Linked DNA regions of Homo sapiens: regions 1 and 3 are each linked to region 2. Evidence: promoter capture Hi-C in human tissues and cell types (Jung and others, 2019). All regions are on one chromosome and are shown on one strand. The core of a region is centred on a gene start or on the middle of the fragment in contact, and the rest is flanking DNA. Distances in the headings are between cores, read along the strand shown.

The links. Contacts are between HindIII fragments. The study calls those that stand out against the background at their distance.
Region 1: a contact is called between a fragment that was not itself captured here and the fragment with the promoter of GFAP in region 2, in 1 of the 25 tissues and cell types used here (bladder).
Region 3: a contact is called between a fragment that was not itself captured here and the fragment with the promoter of GFAP in region 2, in 1 of the 25 tissues and cell types used here (dorsolateral prefrontal cortex).

What each region holds. Positions count from the first base shown.
Region 1 is chr17:45,313,880-45,318,374 of GRCh38, forward strand. It overlaps MAP3K14 (mitogen-activated protein kinase kinase kinase 14), which reads right to left and starts at 3,141. Exons shown (of 16, transcript NM_003954.5): 1 at 3,081-3,141. The HindIII fragment of the contact is 4,566 bases long and covers 159-4,495 here.
Region 2 is chr17:44,914,250-44,918,328 of GRCh38, forward strand. It overlaps GFAP (glial fibrillary acidic protein), which reads right to left and starts at 1,251. Exons shown (of 9, transcript NM_002055.5): 1 at 777-1,251. The coding sequence starts at 1,237. The HindIII fragment of the contact is 9,658 bases long and covers 1-4,079 here.
Region 3 is chr17:44,442,343-44,446,856 of GRCh38, forward strand. All of the region lies in intron 3 of GPATCH8 (G-patch domain containing 8), which reads right to left. Among named protein-coding and RNA genes, the nearest start is that of ITGA2B, 55 kb to the left of the region's middle. The HindIII fragment of the contact is 3,607 bases long and covers 1-3,095 here.

The DNA.
Region 1 (4,495 bases), core at 1,192-3,691, 400 kb after region 2:
AGATTCTGAGCAATCCTGTCTGTTTCTCCTTATGAGGCTTCACTTTTCTGATCTTTGTCCCTGCCCTTCTTCACATGAGTATGGTGTGAAAATACAAAGACTGGCCATAAAATTATTCTTGATGCCACATAATTTCAAGGGATTTCTATCAGGGAGCTGAGGGATTAAGACATGTAGAAAAGCAAGAAGGGAAGAGGCTCCTTTAAACTAGAATACAAAGAGCACACCGGCCACTGAAGAAAAATGACTTTTTCTGCATTGTCATTCAGGCAGTCATAAGCCCAGAACAAAAAAATCTCATACTTCAATGTCCTGCTCAGCTCAACAGAAATGCTCCCCTACAATTTGCCCTACGTCTGGCCTTCCCTTTTTGGGCTACTACTTTCAGCATTTTAGCCAGCATCACCGAGTAAATGCAAAACCTTCACACATGCATCACTTTGAATGCCCACCCAGCTCTTGCAGATGCTCAGCCCCATTCTGTTCCCTTACTAGGGAATCCTGGTGTGTGGAGACCAGAGGGGCTGACATCCTTAGAGCTCCCTAAATCCACTGACATGGAATTGTCCCCGGCCCACCAATTTCACACTGGTGCCATCAATAGTGCCCATAATGCTCAGATGTTTCCAGTTTAACTGAAATACTAAAATGGGGCAAACAGGAAGCATCAGACACAACTGTGGTAGTGACTTATTAATCACGAAAGCAGAATTTTAGTTGCATTTTAACCTTTTGCCAGGAAAAAAAAAAAAACAACCTTGAGATGATGGAAGCCATTAGTAGAAGTACGCTGCCTTTATGCGTATTGGGCTGACTTAGACTTTTTACTTAGGACTGACTTTGCTTTTAAGATTTCTGAACTTTCCCCCCAGAAAGAACATCTGTCAAACCAACCAATATGAATCTGTCAGCTCTTCATCGAGGCAGGCAGGCTTGTTAGGAAAGCCCATGTGCTGTCCATTGAGACAGGAAAAAAAATAGGAAGTTAAAAGTGCCTTCACAGGCCAAAGTGATACAACACTGTTCAGAGGGTGCCAACAACGAAGAAAACAACCCTGGATAAAGCTTTCATCTCTTTCACATCTCCGCAGATCTCTCACCAGACCCTAGCCAGGGATGAACTGTTATCAATCACCAAAAAAAAAAAAAAAATCACAACAGTTGCCGAGGGCTGGACAACCAATCAGCGCAAGCCATCTTCTCAGCAGTAAATGATATACACATATTCCAGGCAGATCACAAAGGAGTCAGTGTTCAACAGGAGAACCAAAATGAGGAACCAAACCTTCATCTGTTGAGGCGAAACAGCCCAACCAGACATTTTTGTTTAATAGAGGGAGACTGATTTGGCAGGGTCTCTGTGGTGCCGCTCCCACAAACTCTTAACAGACAATACCAATGACAAAAAACCCCCTTCAGAACTGCTTCTTATAATCAGAAAACACTCAGAAGATGGCCTGAAGCTTGGCAGCGTCTTGCTGTCTGATTTCACAAAGAGCTGGTACACATACCTGGGTACTTATCTCTAAAATTAGAGTCAGAGACGATTACTTTTATTTTGAGATCTTCTGAGAAGTTCTCCACACCCTTCAAAATAAATAAGGATGTCCGAAAGGTGTCTGAAAAATTCAGAGGTCTGGCATCGCTCCAAAGAAACTGATTGATATCACTTAAAAAACACCAAGAGTAAATCCAAACACAACCAAAGTAAGGCAAGCACTTTTTAAGTGTCCTCTCACATTAAGAGCATAAAAACCACACCAAAAACTTCTCCCTCCTTTCTGCATCTCAGTTCTATAATGTGGTCCTGATCTAGGATTCTGGGAAAGACCCATCCTTAGTCCCAGCTATGAGGCATCAGGCAAGATATATACCACCCCCACTCCCTCATACACACCTGCCTCAGGTGCCTCGCCCATAAAACAAGACACTACAATCTGTCTTACCACACAGCCATCTGAAGGAAAACGGAGCTCACAGGTATGAAGACACTAAGCAAAAAACACATCACTAATGTTAAGATACTGTCTCCTTCTAATCTTTCAGAAAGACCATGTTTCTAGTCAAGGGGTTTCCAACATTTTTCTTGGAATAAACTCCAGACTCCTATTTTATATCATGACCTCACTCTAATCATTTAATTTCATGTGCTTTTAAAGTCCTTAATTAAGTCATTGGTGTTCATTGTCTCCAGCGATCAAAAGTAGTTTTACCATTTACTTTGCTGATGTATGTACCTTTTCACCACTTATCCTCTCCCTCATTCATACCTCCAGTCCACCCTTTAGGGCCGAGAGCAACTTTTTAACCTCGACTAGGAAGGAAACACTTTTTCTGAAGCTACCCAGCACTAAGGAGGCTCCCGGGCAGGTGGGAAACGTACGTACAAGTGGCCCCTCTCTGCCTGGTGCCCAGTGGCTGCAAGATGCCAGGGCCACGATGGGTTTCCAAGATGGGAATGTTATATTTGAACCGACAGATAAAGTCCCGAGTTGGAGAGCCCAGAAGAATTACAGAGGAGGACTGGGGTCCGAGGGCGGAGGGAGGATGCTGCGGGCGGCCAGCACTGCCCCGCTGCATGCTGAGGACAGGCTTAGCTCCTGCTCCCCGCCTTGAGGTGTGACCTGAGAACTTCCCATGAAAGGCCGGGAGGGTTTCACGCCAGGGCAGATGCCAGGGCGCACTCCTGCAGGAGACACGTCCGCCCCGCGGCAGGCGAGCTCCATCCTGGGGGCACTGGGGCGCAGAGCAGGCGGGCGGGCCTGGCGGCGGCGCGGGGCACTAGTGAAGGGGAAGCAGGCGGCCCCTGCGCGCGCTCGGAGCCAGCGTGTGGCCAGCAGGAGTGCGCGGCCTGGAGGCCCGGGGCGAGCGCGGCACCGGCAGCGCGTGCGAGGGCGCGCCCGCGGACCGCTGCGAGTGGGTTGGACGGGGTACGTCGGACTGCGCTGGCCTGGCCGCCGACCCCACTGCTCCGGGGCGAGGGGCCAGGCCGCAGCCCAGCCCGGGGCTGAGAGGCGATCCATCCCAGCCGCTCCCTGGTCGCCTCGCACCGGGCCCCAGGGTCCCGCCCCGTCACCTACCGGCCAAGCGCCGATCTCCCCAACCAAGCGAGTGTTGCGCTCCGCTCGCCCGCGATCTCCCGCCGCCGGCCGCCGACCGCTGAGCTCCCGGCCCGTGGTCGCCCCGCCCCGGTCCCGGGCTCCGCCCCCTCGCCTTCTCGGCCGCCCCCGGGGCCACGCCTCCCCCGGAGGCTGTAACTTTGCCTCGCTTCGCGCCTCCTTTCTTTGGCCGCACCGCGACCCGTGGCCCCGCCCACTCCCCTACGCCAACCAATGAGACGGTCGTCCCGGCAAGCCCGTCTTCCCGCTCCCTAGCAACGATTGGTTAACGAGGCCTGGTTTCCAGAAATGGGCACTATTTCCGGACGATGTTTGTAGAAGGGAGATCGCTGGGCGGGCGGACTGACAGAAGGCGGAGGCGACTAGGGTGTTGGTGGAACCACACATGCGCCCTCGGCTTCTGGCAGTCTTACCAGCTGCGTTCTCGAGGTTACGGGAAGGAAGGGCGAGTGTGCGCATGCGTGGGCACTCCCTGCCACTGACTTCGGTTACCTTGGAGACAGCGAGGCGCTCTCCCTCGTGGGTCGCGCGCGTTCCGCTTCCTCTCTGCTGCCAAGCGGTGGCGGCTGAGGCGGGAGGTGGTGGGGGTAGAGACGTTTTTATTGAGCTCTTACCGTGTGCCTGGTCCTGTAGAATCCCTGGAATGAGTAAAGAAGGTTACAGTGCCTGCCCTCGAGAAGCTTGGGGAGCCAAGGGCTTACAGGGGCCCGACCTGTGGGTTGAAACCCAGGTACAAAGAGAGCATGTGGGTGCGTGGCGTGGTACGAGCGCTGAGCAAAGCATCTGCTCTCTGGGTTTGCAGACCACAGAGCCAGCAAGAGGATGAGAGCTTGATGTATGCAAAGAAAGGACCTGGAGTTCAGAATATGCATTGAAGTGTCAACAGTGCTTCTTTCTGAATGGGGGTCGGGGGTGGGGAGTAGGGAAGGTATAGAAACTTTTTCTAACTTTTGCCCCTCTGTATTATCTAGTGTTTCCACACTGAGCTTGTATTTTATTTGTAATAAATTCCAGGCCAGGCACGGTGGCTCACTCCTGTAATCCCAGCGCTTTTGGGAGGCAAAGGCAGGAGGATCGCTTGAGGCCAGGAGTTGGAGAACATCCTGGGCAATATAGCAAGGACCTCGTCCTTGCAAAAAAATAAAAGAATAGCCAGGCGTGGTAGTTTGCACTTGCAGTCCCAGCTAGAGGGGAGGCTGAGAGTCTGAGGTTACAGTGAGCCATGATCGTGCCACTGCACTCCAGCCTGGGTAACAGAGTGAGGCAGTCCTTTAAAAAAAAAATCCAAACTTTTTTTTTTATTGCAAAATAAAAGATGTACTCCTACCCTGGGCATCCCACTTCCATGAAGGGTCCATGGTAGGTGTGGTGAGTGG
Region 2 (4,079 bases), core at 1-2,500:
CTGGAGGATGAGCAGATGTGGGCTTTTGCCTTAACTCATTACTAAGGTGCCTTATCAGGGTTGGTGCACCTGCTTCTGCTCACACAGGCGCATCCACAAGCATACACTCACTGTTGCACACACACACACACACACGCACATGTCCTCCTGCACTTGAAGGCACACATGCATGTCCTGTCAGCTCAGTGAAGCGCCATGCCCCTGGGGATTCCTCTGATCCCAGGTAACCACCTTTTGAAATGAATTTTATTATGACCACCGCTTCACAGCTGTGCAAGTCAAAGTAACTTGATGGGGGTCACAAGCTGGTGGCAGGCAGTCACCTGTGCTTTGCGCCCAGACCTGCCTGCTCTTTCCCTCACTTTCTTCACCCCAGAATCCAATCTCCCTCATGGACATCAACCTTCTCCGCTTCCAACTCCTCCTTTATATGGACACAGGCTCAGAATAGGTGAGCTCGCTGCCCACAGTCACAAAGCCCAGCCATGAATGAAACACAGGGGCCCCGCTGCTCCTGCACTGCTTTCCCCAGTAGGGAGGTGCTGAGGGGACCCTGGACTCCTGGCAGAAGGCATGCGGGCATCAGATCCCCGGGGCCCTGGGCCTGTTTCTGGTCCCTCCCATCATGTTGGGGGGCAAGGATAGTGCCCCATCAAGAGGTAGGGAGGCCCAGGGAGCAGGGAGGTTCGGCCCCTCCCTGAGACTTCTCGGGCACTCCTTCTTGGGGATTCAGCCCCTTCTGCTCACAAGGCCCCCCTTCCCCATCCCCTCCTCACTTCTGCCTCACAGTGGCCAGGTCCTGTGCCAGATTGTCCCTCTCAACCTCCAGCCGGGCGCTGTTGGCGGTGAGTTGATCGAGCCGCAGCCGCAGCTCTCGCAGCTCAGCCTGGTAGACGTCTGCCAGCTTGGTGGGCTCCTTGGCCCGCAGCTGGTTCAGCTCAGCAGCCAGCGCCTTGTTTTGCTGTTCCAGGAAGCGAACCTTCTCGATGTAGCTGGCAAAGCGGTCATTGAGCTCCATCATCTCTGCCCGCTCACTGGCCCGGGTCTCCTTGAAGCCAGCATTGAGTGCCCCAGCCAGGGAGAAATCCACCCGGGTCGGGAGTGGAGGGGGCATTCGAGCCAGGGAGAGGCGGGTGCCAGGACCCAGACGGCGGCCAGGAGCCAGGCCCCCCACCATCATCTCCCCTGAGGAGACGTAGGAGCGGCGAGCAGCGGAGGTGATGCGTCTCCTCTCCATCCTGCTCTGGCTCTGCTCGCTCCTGGGATGCGAGGGCTTTATGAAGGAGTGGGCTAGACTGGCGATGCCCGGGTGCCCCTGGCAACACCCCCTGGCATAGCCTGAGGGGGTGGGGTTGGGCCGCAGCCCAGCTATGGGGAGAGCTCCCCTCACCCCACTGAGGTCACTGTGCCCAGAGGCAGAGCTTCCTGGGCACGCCAACTCCTGCATGAGGCAGGTGGTACCTGGAGCCAGACCATGGGTCTGGGGCCCTGACCGCTGAAGCAAGAGGACCCTCTCTCTAGGAAGGTGGGTCAAGAAAGGGTTGGTTGGACCATGATGAATACTTACAATTATTATGCATCAATTAAAAAGGAAGGAAAGGGCTGAGTGGGGTGGCTCATGCTTGTAATCCCAGCACTTTGGGAGGCTGAGGCTGGAGGATTGCTTGAGCCCAGTAGGTTGAGGCTGCAGTGAGCTGTGTTTGCGCCACTCCAGCCTGGGCAACAGAGAGAGACCTTGTCTCACAAAAAAAAAAAAAAAAAAGGGAAGGAAGGGCTGTACCAGATGACCTCTGACCTGCTTTCCAACTTTTTGATTTCATAACCCAGGCATTATCTCACTCAGCTGTAAGTGCCTGCAAGGTGCTGGGAATTTGGCGAAGAATGAACCTGTTCTGTACCCTCAAGGGCCACCTCATTTCCTACTAGGCCTCATTCCCAGCAGACTCCTGGAGTCCTTCCCTTGAACACAGATGTCCCACATTCCTGCTCTCTGCCCATTCATTCCCTGGAGTTCTGGGGCTGGGGGCTGGGATTGGACACCAGCCCTTTGTCTAAGGGTCAATCATGGCCTCTATGTGGCAGTGGAGGTCCTGATAGGGCAAGAGGGGGCCGGCACTCTCTTGCCTTATCAGGACTTTAGCCCCTGGATCTGTCCCTCCAGGTCACCCCTTCCTTGTCTGGCCTCCCTGTGCCTCTCTCCCAGAGACCAGGCCTTGACAGCTCCACAAAGCCGTTACACATGAGCTGGCTGTGCTGGCTCGTCTTTATTCCTGCAGCGCCCCGTTTCCCTGGCCACCCCTCCGTCTCCCACTGGAGATTTATTTCCTCGAGTTCCCACACATCAGCCTGGAGAGATGGGAAGAACCTCTGGGGATGGATGGGTTTGGAAACGCTGGAGCCACTGGGCCCAACTAGGAGCCTGAGACCTGGGCCCTGTTGTCCCTGGAGACTTCAGGTCCATCTACGCCCTCCACTCTGGTCCCACAGGGTCAGAACCCTGCCCAGTCCCCTCACCCATTTGTGTCCTTGGACTTCTGGGAAGCAGACAGCCCTCCTCTCCCCCCCTGCCACCCACTGTCCATGCCTGGGCATCCCCTGATCCCCTTTCCTGGGCACAGGCTGAATAGAGCCTTGTTCTCCACCGCCGGTGGCGCCACACAGCAAGGGCAGCCCCTAGGGGGCTGTGCTGCTTTTATCCCAAGATGCCAGGCTGTCAGGCTGGGGTGCAATGCAAGCCCCCTGCTCAATGGGCTTCTCGGAAGGCATTTGAGGGGGGCTGGGGTGCGGCGGGAAGCAGGCACTGTGCCCACCCCGAACATTGTGTCTGTGCCAAGGTGAGTCATTCACTGGGCATGAAGAGGAGGCCCTGGGGGGCGGCCAGCCCAATGCTGCCAGGTCTGCTTGCAGACAAGGCCTGGCTGTCTGCCTCCTCCCCAGCTCACAGAGCCAGCTCAGGCCCCCGAGCCTCTGTCAGAGCAGCGTCCCCTACTCCACACCAGGATATGTTCTTTTTTTTTTTTTTTTTTTTTTTGTCTTTTGAGACAGGGTCTCACTGTTGCCCAGGCTGGAGTGCAGTGGCGCAACCACGACTCACTGCAGCCTCAACCTCCCAGCCTTAAGTGATCCCCTCACCTCAGCCTCCTGAATAGCTGGGACTACAGGTGTGTGTCACCACACGTGGCTGATTTTTTAACTTTTTTTGTAGAGATAGGGTCTTGCCATGTTGCCCAGGCTGGTCTAGAACTTCTGGGCTCAAGTGATCCTTCCACATCAGCCTCCCAAAGTGCTGGAATTACAGTTGTGCGCCACTGCGCCCAGCCCAGGGTATGCTCTGCATTTGGACATGTGATGGACAGACTGCCTCCTGAGGTCTCCCTCTGTGAGTCCCAGCACAGAGAGGGAGGTGGGAGCTCCTTAGGCTCTAGTCACATCTGACCTGGGCGTAAGCAGTGACATAGGAAAGAGCATCTTGAAGACGGGGTGAGCGCCCAGTGACCTTTGATCCTGCTATGAACTGGGGACCTGGGGAAGGACAGGAGGCTTTAAAGGAAGAGCAAGGCTGGGCATAGTGGCTCATGCCTGTAATCCGAGCACTTTGGGAGGCTGAGGTGGGCGGATCGCTTGAGTCCAGGAGTTCGAGACCAGCCTGGGCAATGTGGTGAAATTTTGTCTGTACAAAAAATACAAAAAAATTAGCCAGGTATGGTGGTGCACTACTGTGATCCCAGCTATTCGGGAGGCTGAGGTGGGAGGATCACCTGAGCCCAGGAGGTGGAGACTGCAGTAAGCCAATGTCGCATCACTGCACCCCAGCCTGGGTGACAGAGACTCTGTCTCAATAAATAAAAAAATAAAATAAAATAAACAAAATAGAAAAGGAAGACTGGGGATAAGCTCTTGTCTGAACTCTGTCTCATCTCTGTGGCTAGGAGTGGCCCGCCTTTCCAGGCTGCCCAGCAAGTCACAGCATGTAGCCTTCCCTTTTGGTTCAAGGGAAGTCTAGTTAAAATAAGGGCAAAGCTGTCCTAGAGAGAAAAGATGTGATGAGCAGGAGGTGCCTGTCATTGAAGCTCAGTGAA
Region 3 (4,514 bases), core at 42-2,541, 470 kb before region 2:
AATGCATAAGCAGTTAAAAAAGCTTAAAAATGTCTGAAGTTGTCTTTTAAAGATATCTAAAGTTGTCTTTAAAGACGACCTTAATGAAGTGCAAGTAAATATAAAAGCCATCAAAAAGTCACAAAATCCATGTTTTTTTTGAGACAGGATCTTGCTAAGTCACCCAGGCTGGAGTGCTGTGGTGCCATCTCCGCTCACTGTAAATTCCAGCTTCCAGGCTCAAGCAATTCTTGCCTCTAGGCCTCCTGAGTAGCTGACACTACAAGTGCCTGCCACTACATCTGGCTAATTTTTGTATTTTTAGTAGAGATGGGGTTTCACCATATTGCTCAGGCTGGTCTCAAACTCCTGGGCTTGAGTGATCTGCTCACCTCAGCCTCCAAAGTGCTGGGATTACAGGTGTAAGCCAATGAGCCCGGCCTAAAATCCACTTTCAAAAGACAATTAAAACTGGGCTGGGCTTGGTGGCTCACGCCTGTAATCCCAGCACTTGGGGAGGCCAAGGCAGGAAGATGCCTTGAGGACAGGAGTTTGAGACCATACTGGGCAATAGAGCAAGACTCTGTCTCTCCAAAAAATTTTTCTTAAAAAAATTAGCTGGGCATGGTGGCATGCACCTGCAGTCCTAGCCACTGAAAATATTGAGGCAGAAGGACCACTTGAGCCCAGGAGCTGGAGTGAGCTATCATCGCACCACTGCACTCCAGCCTGGGTGACAGAGAAAAACCTTGTCGAAAAAGAGAAAAGAGGGGAAAAAAGACCATTAAACTGATAAAGGCCAAGAACCTACACTGACATCTTTAAAGTACTTATTTCTTCTTTTTAAGTAATGCAAATACATATGTGAAAATCAAGATAAAAAAAATTACGCAGGTGATTCTCTGATTTGCAAAAGTATTCAAAATAGGATTCAAGTCATGTTAATGGACTTAAATATCATTTCATTTATTGAAACTGTGATCACATGAAACTTTCAGAAACACTGAATAAAAAATGGTACATTTATTTCCAAACCAAAGCTTAATTTTTGCAAATTTCTCCTGAAAATGAGTCTTTAGGTGGCATAGAAACAATTATTACTTTCAGCATCGTTTAGATATTTTTCTAAGCAACTCTAACATATGATATATGCTACCTCTCAGAAAACATTAACTGAAAACATTGAGCACATTACTTAATCCCTAGAGAGTTTTTAAGGTTTAAAAAAAAAGGAAAAACTTTCTACCCAAAATAGAGTTCAAATTATCCAGTACTACAAAAACCTACTATATTCTTGCCATGGCCTTTTTAGTGACCTATACAACAACCAAATTAATTTGATTTTTTTCTTCCTTTATTTATTTTTTAAAACAGGGTCTCACCATCGCCCAGGCTGGAGTGCAGTGGCATAACCACGGCTCACTGCAGCCTCAACCTCCTGGGCTCAAGTAATCCTCCCATCTCAGCTTCCTAAGAAGCTGGGACTACAGGTGCACACCACCACATGTGGCTAATTCTTGTTATTTTTTGTAGAGACGGGATTTCACCATGTTGCCCGCCCAGTTTGTTCTTGAACTTCTGAGCTCAAGCAATTTGCCCACTTTGGCCCCACAAGGTGCTGGGATTACAGACATGAGCCATGGTGCCTGGCCAATTTGATTTTCAAATACAGATGTTTTCTAAGGCACACAAGTTTAATTATGACCTAAACGAATTTCCATCTGATACTTTCCATCTAGGATAAAATAGTTCAATTTTAATCATATAACTAAATATATTAATAAACAGGAACAAAGGTGGGGCAAAAGGCTTTAGTGAAAGTGTTGTTAAATCAGAATGTTAGGCCTGGGAAGGATATCTCATCCAGGGATAACATGATATCCTCAAGCCCTTAGAAGAGATAATAAAGAGAATTCATGAGTTACTTTCAATTAAAAAAAAAAAACCTAAAGAAAATCATACTTTTACATGAGATACAACTGTTTTAGCTAAAATTATACTGACTCACTAAAGATTGCCTCAAGCTAACCACCATGCTAAGATCAATTTGTTTTTTCAAATGGGAAAGCCAAATTAATAAATACAATTTTGGGGTAAAATAGTCTAAAACATGGGGCTGAGGAGATACGGAAAAAAACAGTTAAGTCTTTAGTTTAAAGAAAAAAAAAAGGCCAGGCATGGTGGCTCACGGCTGTAATCCCAGCACTGTGGGAGGCCAAGGCAGGCAGACTACTTGAGGTCAGGAGGTCGAGATCAGCCTGGCCAACATGGCAAAACCTCGTCTGCATTTAAAATACAAAAATTAGCTGGGCGTGGTGGCATGTTCCTGTAATCCCAGCTACTTGGGAGGCTGAGGCAGGAGAATCACTTGAAACTGGGAGGCAGAAGTTGCAGTGAGCCGAGATCACACCATTGCACTCCAGTCTGGGGCAACAAGAGAGAATCTCCATCTCACGGGGGGAAAAAAAGTGGTAGCACTTTTGTGCCCTGAGTTTTACTTATGTTTATATCCATATCTGACACAGTATGTAGGCCAGAATGGCATTTAGTTAAAAAGCATTTGTTGACTCAGAGAATGAACATGTTCGTAGCGGGTCTGAAACTTGTTCAACTGTAAATACTTAGTCATCATGATGCGCGCCGCTTAACATCACAAGATACTAATGATTTAACTCTCATAATCAAGGAATTATTTTATCAAGTAGAACATATCACTATATTAGAAAGGTCTCCATATATCAAAAAATATGTAAACTTTTATAATGAAATATTTGAGTTTTACATTACTGGTCATTAGAGCCTTAAGGCTTGTTCAATTTCATTTCTTGTTATCACTCAGTAGTCAAGGAGAAGGAAGCATCAAATGTTTAAGAAAAAAATACTAAAGAACTTACATTCAACATATATCGACAAACTTTTAAAAAACTGAATTGGAAAGTTGCCATAACCAGTTTCAGTGAAGGAAAACCTCAAGTCAGCCCCCATAATAATGGTGTTTTCCAGGAAATTAGGTTTAGGGTAAGTGGTCTGTTAGAAATTCTGAAAACATTTTTCCTCTTTTTAAAAAACAGGTCACAGTAAAAATTAATGGCTTCCTTCAAGTACCCAGTACACTCCTATATACATGTAGGTAGACCAAAAATTACCAGTGAGCTCCAATCTATGTGAGTATTTCTTTTTCTTTTTTTTTTTTCCCCCCCTAAGATGGAGTTTCACTCTTGTTGCCTAGGCTGGAGTGCAACAGCGCGATCTCGGCTCACTGCAACCTTCACTTCCTAGGTTCAAGCGATTCTCCTGCCTCAAGCCTCCTGAGTAGCTGGGATTACAGGTGCCCGCCACCAGGTGGCTAATTTTTTGTATTTTTAGTAGAGACGGGGTTTCACCATGTTGGCCAGGCTGGCCTCGAACTTCTGACTTCAGGTGATCCACCCACCTCATACTCCCAAAGTGCTGGGATTACAGGCATGAGCCACTGTGCCCAGCCTACATGAGTATTTCTTGATTAATGAATTCCAAAAGAAAAAATATACTTGTAAAGAGTGGCAACATGAAACTCAGGGGATCTGAATTACAGTTCTGTCACTAATGGGGCATGTGACCCATTATTAGCTATTAATTTCTTTTTATTTTTAGAGACAGAATCTCACCCTGTTGCCTAGGCAGGACGGAATGCAGTGAAGTCATCATAGTTTACTGTAACACTGAACTCCTGGGCTCAAGTGATCCTCCCACCTCAGCCTCCTAAGTAGCTAGGACTACAGGCACTCACCACCATGTGTGGCTAATTAAAAAAAAAAAAATTTTTTTTTGTAGAGATGGTGTCTCACTATGTTGCCCAGGCTGGTTTCAAACTCCTAGCCTCGAGTTATCCTTCTGCCTCAACCTCACAAAGTGCTGGGATTACAGGTGTGAGTCACCATGCCGCCTATATTAGTTTCGTGATCCAAAAATAGAGGAGTTAAAGGCCAGGCGCAGTGGCTCACGCCTGTAATCCCAGCACTTTGGGAGGCCGAGGCGGGCAGATCACGAGGTCAGCAGATCGAGACCATCCTGGCTAACACGGCGAAACCCAGTCTCTACTAAAAACACAAAAAATTAGCCAGGCGTGTGGCAGGCGCCTGTAGTCCCAGCTACTCGGGAGGCTGACACAGGAGAATGGTGTGAACCCGGGAGGTGGAGCTTGCAGTGAAGCCGAGTTCACACCACTGCACTCCAGCCTGGGCGACAGAGTGAGACTCTGTCTTAAAAATAAAGGAGTTAGACAAATCTATAAGGTTCACTTCACAATTCTAAAGTTTGAAGAGTGGAAAATATTTGAGTAGAAAATATCTGGGGGGATTATGTAGACAGCAGCCAGTCTTGTGATACTATAATAAGCCAACAATCAAATGCCTTCTTAAACTTACTATTGTTTTTCCATAGCTACACTGAAAATTTTACTATTCCAGGATCACTCCATTACCCCAAAACTTTCCAGCCTCATTTAACTTTCCACTGCAACTCCTCCATTTCATCTATTTTTTTTTCCTTAAAGA